Regions from separate parts of the Homo sapiens genome. Here all the other regions are linked to region 1. The links are contacts of gene promoters, found by promoter capture Hi-C in human tissues and cell types (Jung and others, 2019). All regions are on one chromosome and are shown on one strand. The core of a region is centred on a gene start or on the middle of the fragment in contact, and the rest is flanking DNA. Distances in the headings are between cores, read along the strand shown.

Region 1 (2,904 bases), core at 328-2,827:
TCCCTGGACACCTCCAGCCAGTGTGGGCGCAGGAGATCCATGCTGGCAGGCCGCAGGGCTGGGGGTGGGGTCAGGGCAGAGTTCACTCCGGGCAGGGGGCAGGAGCGGGTCTGGCCCAGGGGTTGGCACGCGCTGCACAGTAAGCCCCGCCCGGCCGCCCCCGCCCCGCCCTCTGCTCACCCCTGCTGCTGCGCGGGCCCCGGTGCAGCTCGTGCAGTCTGGTGTCCGACTTGCTGAGGGAGCAGAGGTGGGTCCGCCTCAGTAGGGACTGGGGGCGAGGAAGGCTGGTCGGTGCCCTGCGGACCCCACCCTGGTCCCCGGGACAGCCTGGCACTCACCGCTTCCGCCGCCGTCGCACTGCCCTGCAGCCTCGCCCGCTGCCTCCGCGCCCTCTTCCTGGGGGCTACAGCGTCCTCGGGCCTTGGGGGTAGAGGTGGGGGGCGGGGGGCGGGGTCGTCAGCCTCGGGTCCAAGGCCCGGTGCAGGCGCGCGTGCCGAGCTGGGTGCGCGGACCTGCCTCCAGCCCCTTCCCGCGCTGGGCTGTGAATGGCAGCCGCAGCGAGGCCCCAGACAGAACGCGGCTGAGGGACCTACCTGCGGCAGGCTGTGCACAGCGCCCACAGCGAGAGGAGCAGGGCGCAGCACCCTAGAACCCAGAGGGCAGGAGGGGCCCAGGACACTGGCAGCCCCATCCTGTGAAGCCGAGGCCCTGGGGACAGAAGAAAGGGGCGCTGGGGGCTGGCCAAGGGGACCTGGCGCCACCTGGCAGCCCCAAATCTGCACCTCCCGCGGCTGCGGGGCTCCTGCGTCTCCCGTTCCAGCTCTGACTCAGCACAGGAAGCCCCAAGGCCTGGCAGTCCCTCCCTCCCAGAGGTGCCCACCTTCTGGCGGGGGCTCCCGGTGAGGTGAACTAGGGCTGCTCTGCCTGGCCCCTCCGTGTCCCTGCGGGTGACCACGGTAACACCCAGCACGGCCGTGAGGAGGGGCAAGACAGCTGTGGCCACCATAGCCCAGATAGTAACCAGCATCGGGGGAGCCCCTGGGTGTGCGCCACAGGCCACAGACTCCACCTGCAGCCACCCTCTGCCCAGACATGGTCTCCTGTGTCAGGTAGTGCCCCCAAGCCGCTCGCTGCGGAGCCCAGAACTGGGAAGAGCTGGAGGCTGGTCAGCAGGAGGGACCCTGCACCCGGAGGAGCTGGAGGCTGGGTCAGCAGGCAGCAGCAGCTGCTGGGGGTGCTGATGCCCCCACCCCACTTCTCTCTGGCTCTTCTTGTCTGCCAGTGTCTCTGCCAGAGAGGATCTGTCCCCTTCTTGGGGATCTTAGCAGAACTTCTCGGGGTGGGGGATGCCTTACAAACAGCACAGTCCAGCAGCAGAGACAGAAGCTGGGGGGTGAGGGGTGGTCTCTGGAGTTTGGGGCCAGTCTGCTCAGACCCAGGGAGTGGGCTTCAGCCTGGCTGACTGACCCAGCTGCAGCCACATCCCAAGGCCTCCCAGACCCCAGCTGCCCCCCAGGAGGGCACTTACCAAGCCCACGGCCAGGGGTCCTCAGCTCTGTCTGGGGCAGGCCAGGAAGGTCTTTGTGCAGCCCTCGGCTGAGCTCCCCACCTCATCACTTCCTGCTCCTGTCGCCAAGCGCCTCCCCTGAGCCTCCCACCCTGGGCAGCAGCCACCACCGCAGCCTCACCCACCTGCTGCGCCCCGCCCGAAGCCTAGATGAAACGTGTGCGCCTCTAGCCCGCACTGTTCTGACAGCCTAACTCACAACCCCTCCACACACGAAGACGTGAGCAGAGCTGGCACAGAACCCCCAAACCCACAGGGCCAGGTCCGCCTGCCTCACCAAGAGTGCCCCACGTGGTGGGCCACAGTCCTCTCCCGCCCGTCTCGCCCGCTGGAGCAGCACTGAGCTCCACCCATCTGTGGGTGTCAGGCAGCCTGGCGGGCACCCTGGCCTCCGATCTGCCTTGGTCAGAGAAGGGTAAGAAGGGAGAATGCCGGCCTCCTAGGCCCCTCCAGCCCAGCCCGTCTCTCACCACAGCCCTGCACAGACCCTTCTCTCCCCAGAGACCCTGCAGCCAGCTGATCTCCACTGAATGACACTGTGATGAAATCACTTTAATGTCCTTGCCAAGGAAATGCCCAAGACACTGGCAGGTGGGCAAGTAAGTGTCCAGATGGGACCCCGCAGCTCTGTCTCCACTCAGCAGTGTCTGCACGCCCCAGGCCAGCAGGCCGGCCCCTCCTCGGGCAACACTGGTCTTCCTGAGGGCAGCCCGTGCTGGGGTCCCACGCTTCGTCCATAGTGCTTGTGGGGTCTCTAGAACTCAGTCATCTTCTTGTGGGTGTCTGCCTTCCTCTGCTCCTGCTGCAGGCCGGCTTCCTGAGCCCGGAGCTGCCCCAGCTGGCGCTGGGCTCCTGCCAGCTTCTCCTGCAGCTGGGCTGACGCCACGCTATGCCTGCGGAGGGGCTCACTAGTCAGCGTGGGGTCCTGGGCCATGCCACCAACCCCAGTCTGCCGTACCCACTGCCTGTGTGCCCGCTGCCCGTCCTCCAACATGCAGACCCCTCCTGGACTCAGCCCGCTATGCTTGGGTCAGGTGACCTCCAGCATGTATCCCGGGGGCAGGGCCACCCTGGGTCGCCCTTTGCCCTGAGCTGGGCCCCACACGTACCGGCCAGCGTTGCGGGCGAGAGCCTCCTGGATGCTCCTGATGTCCCGCTGGGTTCGCTCGATCTTCTCCTCAGTCTGGAAGAGCCGCAGGCTCAGGGCCCGCTTGGCACTCTTGCTGGCATGGTACATGTCCTTGCTCCTCCTCCCCGCTGGGGCCGCCCCGGCTTCTAGGGCCCCAGGAGCCTGACCTTGCAGCTTTTCATTGAGGAAGTCAAACACATTCCGAGGA
Region 2 (2,904 bases), core at 118-2,617, 820 kb after region 1:
GCAACCTCCGCTTCCCGGGTTTAAGTGATTCTCCTGCCTCAGCCTCCCAAGTAGCTGGGACTACAGGCACCTGCCACCAAGCCCTGCTAATTTTTGTGTTTTTAGTAGAGATGGGGATTTCACCATGTTGGCCAGGCTGGTCTCAAACTCCTGACCTCAGGTGATCCACCTGCCTCAGCCTCCCGAAGTGCAGGCATGAGCCACCGCACCCGGCCCAGAATAATTTTTGTAATGACGGTATTATTTGGTAAGCAGCAAAACTTTGAATTTGCCGTCTGAAGGATTTAAATGTAATCTATGCAATTGAGTCAGATTCTGCATAGATACTAAAGTAAATGAAAGTTGGGCTTCTTCAGTTCCTTGTGGGCCCAAATCTCTTTCCTGTTTGGTGAGTGCAGCACAGTGTTTCCTGCCGCAAGCTGGTGGAGCTTTGAGTGGGCCATCATGGTACATGAACGGCTGCTGCTGGTGGCTGGAGAACACGTCGCATTTGGGGATGTCATCTGAAGTTTCTAGGCATATTCTCCTAGTGACTGTCGCATTAATGAAAACTGAGCTATCAAGAGTCTTTCATTGGGTAATCTTTCCTTCATTTGTGGTAGTTTAAAGATCTTTTACCTAGTGTCTTCTCAGTTGCTCCTCATCTGCATAATAAACAGATTGATGAGCCAGGAGACCCTTAATAGGCAAAATATAAATAAATGTAAACTTTGGCCTACCCTGTCAGAATTAGCGAAAATAATGAAGTTTAGAATAGTGAGGTTTTATTGTAGCATTATAATTTCTGACTGGCGGGTTAAAATTGTTTTGAATATTGTTTCAGGGGAATGTGAGGTTTGAAGAAACAGAATGTTTGCCACTAGGTGAGGTAAACTATGCATTTTTGTTTTATCTTTTTGCTTAGAAGTCAGAGCTCTTTTCCTGGAGGTGCGATGTTATGAAAATAGAAACTTAATTATGGTTGTATGTCATATTTTAAAGTGTCTTGGAGATTAATTACTCAGAAACTAGTCTCAAGTTTTTGGAACTGAAAATCTTTAGGTGGGAGCTGGGCACTGTGGCTCACGCCAGTGGTGTCCCAGCTACTCAGGTTGAGGCAGAAGGATCGTTTGAACCTATGAGGTAGAGGCTGCAGTGAGCCCTGATCATGCAGCTGTACCACAACCTGGAAGTGGGCACGCTTGAGTTAATGACTTCAAGCAGATTTTAGAGTAGTAAAAGTTGAGCATACAGATTTGCAGTGGTTGCAAACCCATGCATTGTAATAGTTGCAGTTAGGCTTTTTAAAGTAACAGAGCTGACCTTTTGGGAAGATATTTTTATTTGGTTTTTAAGAAATTTCACTTTTGGCTGCTTACTGTTTTGGTGAGTTGGGGAATCTGAGGGAAGATTAACAGGTAGTTACAGAACCCTTGTGGAAGGAAATGTTTAAAGTCTCTTCTGATGTCTGAAGCATAGGTATGTATTACTGCTTTGCACATATCCAGTGTACTCCTAAACTGGTAGAAATGGCATGTTGCCACAGTTCTTTGTGTTTCATGGACTCCTGAGGGGGAAGTCCTTGAAGCCCTTTCTGGGGCTAAGAGGTAAAGATGACTTCTGCATAATAATAGTCTAATAGTACAGGCCTTTTCTGGTGAGTTTGACATTTGCATCGGTGGCACAGGGCAGATTGGAGCCCTCTTCAGCACCGTGCATGGGCACCGAATGTTTAGAATATGCCAATTTTCCCAAATAATGTCCCTGATGATGCAGTAAATATTAATTTTTTTCGGAACCCGCAAACATACATCTTTTTTACTTTCGCTGTGATTAAATGTCAAGTTATATATAAAGCTTCTGCTGCATCCCCACGTGGTACTGTCCACGCACAGCCCTAGGGGATTGAGCTGGGAGCCGAGTGGTCTCGGAAACGCTGTCTGTCCCTGACAGAACAACAGACGGAGGACAGTTTTCAGACTCAGCATGTGGCAGGCGTTTTGTCCAAAACGAGTGATGTCTCAAAGAAAAAACGAACAGTATTTGTTGCTAAGGATAAAATTTGAGCTTTGGGGTGAAAATTGGAATTTTAGAAAACTTGTATCTGCCATTGTAAACCTGATGGCTTTCTAGTAATTAAAGTCTTCTTGGAGATTGGACCCGACATTATCGGCCAGGTGAGGTGACTCACACTTGTAATCCCAGCACTTTGGAAGGCGGAGGTGGGTAGATCACTTGATCCCAGGAGTTTGAGACCAGCTTGGGCAACATAGTAAGACCCTGTCTCTACAAAAAAAAATGCAAAAATTACCTGGGCATGGTGGCATGCACCTGTAGTCCCAGCTACTGGGGAGGGTGAGGTGGGAAGACCGCTTTGAGCCTGGCGGTGGTGTGGGTGGGGGAGGTGCTGAGGCTGCAGTGATCCTTGATTGCACCACTGCACTCCATCCTGGGCAACAGGAAAAAAAATGTTTGTTTTATGCTATCCGATGAGATGTGTGGACATTGAGAATCTGTCTGTTACTTGAACCCGTGTCATCCAGGTGAACAGCATGCACATGGGTCCAGAGTGCAAGGACGTGTTCAGAGTGAACACAGCAGTCAGTTTTCATGAAAGAAAGGGAGAAGTTCCTTGACAAAGGCTGCAAATTCTGTTTCAGCTAACTTTTATGAAACTGCTCCTTGGCGAGAGTTGGTGTAGTATCAGTGAACATCCAGTTATGTGAAGATGGTTACAATACTCCATTCTAAAGACCTATCTGTGTGAGGCAAGATTTTGATGACATGTTTTAGCTGAAACACTCTATGGGAACAGATTGAGGGCAGAAGTAGACATGAACATGGAGCTGTCTTCGGTTATGCCAGAAATTTGCAAAAATGTACAACAGGGCCACTCTTCCTGTTCATTTTTGTTTGTTTTAGAAA
Region 3 (2,904 bases), core at 205-2,704, 800 kb after region 1:
CCCTGCAAGATGGGGCCACAAATAAGGAGGAAGGACTGGAAGAAGAACAGGTTTGAGAAGCAGGGCAAGTTTGACGTGACTATTAGACATGCGTCTGGAGAAATCAAGCAGGTGTCTGAATTACAGATCCTGAGCTCAGAGCTGAAAACATGAATTAGTGAAATAAGGGGCGGGGGGGGCGGTGCTGGGGCACAGGGATATTTAAAGCCAAGAATTCAGCAAAGACCATAGGAAGAGCGTAGATAGGGAATGAGAATCGCCATTACTTGGAGGATGCCAACCTTGAAGGTAAAGCAGAGAAAGTGGCACCAGCAGAAGAAAACTTGATGTGGAGCGGCAGGTAAAGTGGAGGAGAAACCAGGAGTCGCTGTCACACACGAACACCCATCTTTCGTTGTCAACTGCAAAACTCACTGAGACCAACTTTTTATTCACGACAATTAATGGTAACTTAAGGACTCATTTTCTTTTTCTTTTTTTTTTGAGACAGAGCCTCGCTCTGTCGCCCAGGCTGGAGGGCAGTGGCGCGATCATGGCTCACCGCAGCCTCGACCTCCTGGGCTCAAGCGATCCTCCCACCTCAGCCTCCAGAGTAACTGGGACAACAGGAGCGCACCACTCTGCCTGGCTAATTTTTTTATTTTTAGCAGAGAAGGGAGTCTCGCTGTTGCCACGGCTGGTCTCGAACTCGCGGGCTCAAGTGATCCGCCCACTTCGACCTCCGCCACCGCGCCCGGCCCTAGGACCAACGTTAAGAGCTCCCTAGGAAAAGGCACCTTTTCTCTCGGCCCATTCGGTGATCGGCACTCACAGCGCTTCCACTCCGGGCAGTTACGTGCGCCCATGAAAAGCAACAACTTTGTAGAACTGGCCAGTCCTGTTAGCAGGAAGAACTCGGTAGTCTCAAACTCCAGCATAAAAAGATTCAGCAGAAGAAAACACCCGTGTGCTGAAGACTCCTACTTTCCATGCCACACTTTACATCCTCACCCGCTCGGTTTCTGCTTTAAAGCAGCAGATTTTATTAAAAAGACTTCGTTACGGACGTCGCTCCTCCACAGAGACAGCTACCGCCGCCCCTCAGGCTGGCCGGGACCGCCCCAGAACACCAGCGCCTGAGGCCGCGCGCCTGGAGGCTGAGCCCTGACTGCCCCCTGGGCACCGGCGCGGGGCGGCCGTCCGGGCCTGGACTCACTGCGCGCCCCAATTCCGCACCTGCCAGCGCCGGCGCTTCCAAGGCCCCCAGAGCGGGGGCGGCGCGCACCCCGGCCACATCCCGCCTGCCCGCCCGGCCCGGCCCCGGGAGACGCTCGGCCCGGCCGCCCGGGCCCGCCGCCGCCATCTTACCGTGCGGAACCTGCCTCCCGCGCTGCGCGGTCTGGGCGGCTGCGGCTCCGCAGCCTCTCCTGGGCTGGGGAGAGGTGGCGGCCGCCGGGGCGCCCGAGTAGAAGGAGGCAGAGGTGGGGGCCGCGGCGGAGGCGGGGGCGGGGGCGGGGGCGGGGAGCGGGAGGGCAGGCGCACCGGAGGCCGCCCCTCAGCACCTCTCGCGACAGCAAGAGAGCGCGAGAGCGCGAGCCGATGACCAATGAAGCGCCCCCGCGAGGGGGCGGGGCGGACGGCCTCCCGGAAGCGCGGAACCTCAGCTTCCGTACTTGCGCAGAACTCCCCTCGCGGCGACCACGCACTACGGGTTGGCGCCAGAGTCAAAAGGCGTCGGCCCTCTGGCAAGATGGCTGCTGCGGAGGCGTTGGAGCGCGGAAATCTGGAACCGGGATGGCGACGTCTACACTGAGTCGGAGGCGAAGGTCCCAGCTTTTTTCCTGTCGTTTGCGTGAGGCCGCACGGGGTGGGGCGGGGGAAAGGCGCCGGGTGTCCGCGGCCGCCCCTCAGACGGGGAGGGAGTCCCCTCCCGACCGGCGGCCTTCCAGGGCTAGTGTCCCTGAGGTCCAGGGAGAGACGGCTGACCCGAGACCGGGCTGGGCGAGAGCTGTGCTGTCTGCGCGTTGAAGCGAGTTCCCCCGCTTTACTCGAGATGTTGTTGAGCGCGTCCTCACTCGAGGCCAGGTGGGGAATCAGAAGGGCCCTGCCCTCAGGGCGCCTCCCATGGGCTACGCCGAAGGGCGGGACGCGGCCAGGGCGCGCGGGACAAAGGAGACCCCACTTGCTTGCGGGGCGGAGTCCCGGCGGCGGCGCGGGGCAGGGCCGGGGTTACTCGGTGACTGGAGACCCTCCCGGCAGGAGCGCGGGTTGAGGCCGCACTTGGGTATTTGCGCGTTTACTTGCTTATTGCCTGTCCGCTCAGGAGGAATGCGAAGTCTGTCATTGCAGGGTCCCATGTTTCCGTTGCTGGGAAGTACCTTAAAATATTTGATAGAGCCGAAGGAAGAAATAGAGTCCTTGAGGGGCAGCTCCTGATTTCATCTGTGAGGAATTCACGGGACGGCTTCTTTCTGAAGTCAGGGGTGAGGTGGTTTCGTGTGTTTGCTTACAAGCGAGCTGAACAACGTGTAAGCTATGTCGGTCGGTCTACTCAGCGACAGTAAGTCCAGTTCGGCAAATAGGTTGGAGGAGACTGATTTTGGACATTTTCCGTTAATCGAAAGAGCTAAATCTGCAGGTATAAGGTCTTGACAAAATTATGCTTCATATGCAGAGGCAGTACATGCCAGTAATTTTTTCATTTGCAACTACATAACCCTATGGGAAACAGTTATTGGTCTTTATTTAGTTATTTATTTTGAGACGAAGTCTCACTCTCGCCCAGGCTGGAGCGCAGTGGCGCCATCTCGGCTCACTGCAACCTCCGCCTCCCGGGTTCAAGCGATTCTCCTGCCTCAGCCTCCCGAGTAGCTGGGACCACAGGGGCGCACCACCACGCCCAGCTAATTTTTGTATTTTTAGTAG
Region 4 (2,904 bases), core at 158-2,657, 540 kb after region 1:
TGAGTGGAATCTGAAAAGCGGGCGTGTGTTCATCATCAAGAGCTACTCTGAGGACGACATCCACCGCTCCATTAAGTACTCCATCTGGTGTAGCACAGAGCACGGCAACAAGCGCCTGGACAGCGCCTTCCGCTGCATGAGCAGCAAGGGGCCCGTCTACCTGCTCTTCAGCGTCAATGGGAGTGGGCATTTTTGTGGGGTGGCCGAGATGAAGTCCCCCGTGGACTACGGCACCAGTGCCGGGGTCTGGTCTCAGGACAAGTGGAAGGGGAAGTTTGATGTCCAGTGGATTTTTGTTAAGGATGTACCCAATAACCAGCTCCGGCACATCAGGCTGGAGAATAACGACAACAAACCGGTCACAAACTCCCGGGACACCCAGGAGGTGCCCTTAGAAAAAGCCAAGCAAGTGCTGAAAATTATCAGTTCCTACAAGCACACAACCTCCATCTTCGACGACTTTGCTCACTACGAGAAGCGCCAGGAGGAGGAGGAGGTGGTGCGCAAGGTGAGGCTGGGTGTTGCAGGCAACTGCCATGCAGATGTGTCCTTGGTGCCGTACTTAGACCAGGTGGCCCGGTGGTGAGCAGATGCGGCAGGTCCGCCGAGCTGAGTCTCGTGACAGGCAGCTCCCAGTTGGCCGCAGGTGGGCGGGCCCAGGTCCTGGCAGCCTCGTGGGCTTTCCCTGCGGAGAGTACTGCTAGTAACCAGTGATGGTATTTGGGTAGATGTCACCGAACGACTTTGATCACTTTCCAATTATAATTGAATAATTGGGACCACAGTGTACACATTCTGTTTTTCTGTTACAAAGAATTTGAGGGTAACTTTCTCCTCTCCTTTTTGAATTGTGATACTTTCTGGAACAGTGCTTCCCAGCCTCCGTCCATGAGGAACACTTAGGTGATATTCACGAAGCACTGCGGTGGGCACGTAGGGCATCGAGACCCCACCTGGCCAAGGGCCCTTGCTTCCCAGGGCACTGTCCCTCAGTAGTTGGGAATCTCTGGTCTTTGATCTGGAGGTCGTTGCTTTATTTTTCTTTTAAAAACCCAGTATCCTGCAGTTTTTGGAAACAAACTCACTCCATCTAGGTCGTAAAGAAAATGGTGGTGGTGGGGTAGGTTTGGAATCCAGACATTTTATAATGACAAATATGGATCCTATATCAAAAATTCATTGACTGGGCCTTTTTGAGACAGTCCTGATTTCCTGGGATACTTGTAGCCAAACTCCTGAGTCTGTGCTGTCATGTGATGTCTGACGGGATTGAGTGTGTTTGCTCTTCAGAAGGGCTCAGATGCCCGTAAACTGGCACCAGCAATGGGAAAATGATGATGCTGACATACTTCATAATGCTTCCTTTATTCGAGAGAGTTCATCCTGAGATTCTCTCCTGCTTTTTAAAAAATATCCCTTCCTGAAATGTCAGTTGATAATAGATGGGTTTTCAGTGTTTTTTTCAGTTCTCTATGTTAAAGGAATTATTCACCTGTGAGCACCAAGTGTCCTAATGTATTTTGGGCAGAAAGGCGTGTACATGGCATATATAGGGATGTATAGAGTAGAGCCGCCTGCACTGTCTGCAGTCTTACATTATGCAAGTCCTGAACAACTTGGGGCTTGTAGAACTTTGGAAAAGTATCAGTCCCTCTCTTTTGTGAGAAAAGAAGTGGATGTCATTTATTTCCAGTTACTGAATTCTGAATTAGTTACTGAAATTCTGTGTTTTAGGTCTTTTTTTTTTTTTTAAATGGAGTTTTGCTCTGTTGCCCAGGCTGGAGTGCAGTGGCGCAATCTCGGCTCACTGCAACCTCCACCTCCTGGGTTCGAGTGATTGTCCTGCCTTAGCCTTCCAGGTAGCTGGGATTACAGACAATAGCTCGGATTACAGACTTTTAGGTATAAAATGAATACTGAATTGCTAAAGTTGCAGGGATAATTGCTAATGAAGCTTTAGGTCCTTAGCTGGCTAAACTGGAAGCTGGCTGTGTGTGTGTGCGCGCACAGTTTTTCTTCTTAAATACCGTAATACTTGGGTTTTCATAAAGTGTGCGGACTCCTGACCTGGTTGGTGTTTTTAAAACTCTAGTGTCCTACAACTTGCATTATAAAAACTTGATCTAGATAACTGCTTTTGTGTGTCGGGTTATGGGTTAAGCATCTTGGTAAGCGGCCTGCAGGGTCTGTGGGCATCTGCCTGCAGGCAAGATCCAAGTGTTCCTCAAACCACTGGGTGCTCCAAGGCGAGTCCAACAGAGCCGCTGGTGGAGCATCATTGGAAGGAACTTGGTAACCCTCCCCTAAACTGTTAGCCAAGCTGGAGAACTCTGGGCCCATATGGGTCAGTGTTAACATTAATTCATTTTATTGAAAGTGACAAATGAGAACCTGGTTTGTTAATGTTTGGTGGAATTTCAAATAGCTTTTTTTTTTTTGAGCCAATCTCACCGTCAGCCAGGCTGGAGTGCAGTAGTGCAATTTTGGCTCACTGCAACCTCAACCTCCGAGGTTCAGGCCATTTTCCTGCCTCAGCCTCCCAAGTAGCTGGGATCATAGGCGCCCACCACTGCACCCAGCTAAATTTTGTATTTTTAGTAGAGATAGGGTTTCACCATGTTGGCCAGGCTGGTCTCGATCTCTTGACCTCAAGTGATCTGCCCACCTCAGCCTCCCAAAGTGCTGGGATTACAGGTGTGAGCCACCGTGCCCCGCCTCAAATAGCTTTTTGTTTTTGTTTTTGAGACAGGTCTTTCTCCGTCTGCCGGGCTGGAGTGCAGTGACTTAATCACAGCTTGTTGTAGCCTTGACCTCCTGGGCTCAAGCGGTCTTCCTGCCTCAGCCTCCTGAGTAGCTACAGGCGTGCACCACCACGCCTGGCTAATTTTTGTATTTTTTTGTAGA

The links. The method cuts DNA at HindIII sites, captures the fragments that hold promoters and counts their contacts. A contact is called where the count stands out against the background at its distance.
Region 2: a contact is called between a fragment that was not itself captured here and the fragment with the promoter of LIME1 in region 1, in 1 of the 25 tissues and cell types used here (lymphoblastoid cells).
Region 3: the fragment with the promoter of GID8 here is called in contact with the fragment with the promoter of LIME1 in region 1 in 1 of the 25 tissues and cell types used here (liver).
Region 4: a fragment that was not itself captured here is called in contact with the fragment with the promoter of LIME1 in region 1 in 1 of the 25 tissues and cell types used here (liver).

What each region holds. Positions count from the first base shown.
Region 1 is chr20:63,735,337-63,738,240 of GRCh38, reverse strand. It overlaps LIME1 (Lck interacting transmembrane adaptor 1), which reads right to left and starts at 1,577. Exons shown (of 6, transcript NM_017806.4): 1 at 1,529-1,577; 2 at 594-708; 3 at 339-420; 4 at 181-268; 5 at 1-58. The coding sequence starts at 691. It overlaps ZGPAT (zinc finger CCCH-type and G-patch domain containing), which reads right to left. Exons shown (of 7, transcript NM_181485.3): 6 at 2,677-2,904; 7 at 2,099-2,460. The coding sequence ends at 2,322. RefSeq lists silencers at 1-21, 102-251, 322-541 and enhancers at 1-276, 476-1,392, 1,972-2,151. The HindIII fragment of the contact is 23,629 bases long and covers 1-2,904 here.
Region 2 is chr20:62,916,577-62,919,480 of GRCh38, reverse strand. The region is part of intron 1 of DIDO1 (death inducer-obliterator 1); the gene reads left to right. Among named protein-coding and RNA genes, the nearest start is that of DIDO1, 8.5 kb to the left of the region's middle. The HindIII fragment of the contact is 9,356 bases long and covers 1-2,904 here.
Region 3 is chr20:62,936,697-62,939,600 of GRCh38, reverse strand. GID8 (GID complex subunit 8 homolog) reads right to left here and starts at 1,454. Exons shown (of 5, transcript NM_017896.3): 1 at 1,348-1,454. It also overlaps a transcript of DIDO1 not described here. RefSeq lists silencers at 1,084-1,213, 1,284-1,513, 1,884-1,933, 2,204-2,253 and an enhancer at 720-1,388. The HindIII fragment of the contact is 10,021 bases long and covers 1-2,904 here.
Region 4 is chr20:63,199,891-63,202,794 of GRCh38, reverse strand. YTHDF1 (YTH N6-methyladenosine RNA binding protein F1) reads left to right here. Exons shown (of 5, transcript NM_017798.4): 4 at 1-508. Among named protein-coding and RNA genes, the nearest start is that of YTHDF1, 15 kb to the left of the region's middle. RefSeq lists enhancers at 2,273-2,874, 2,875-2,904. The HindIII fragment of the contact is 5,570 bases long and covers 1-2,904 here.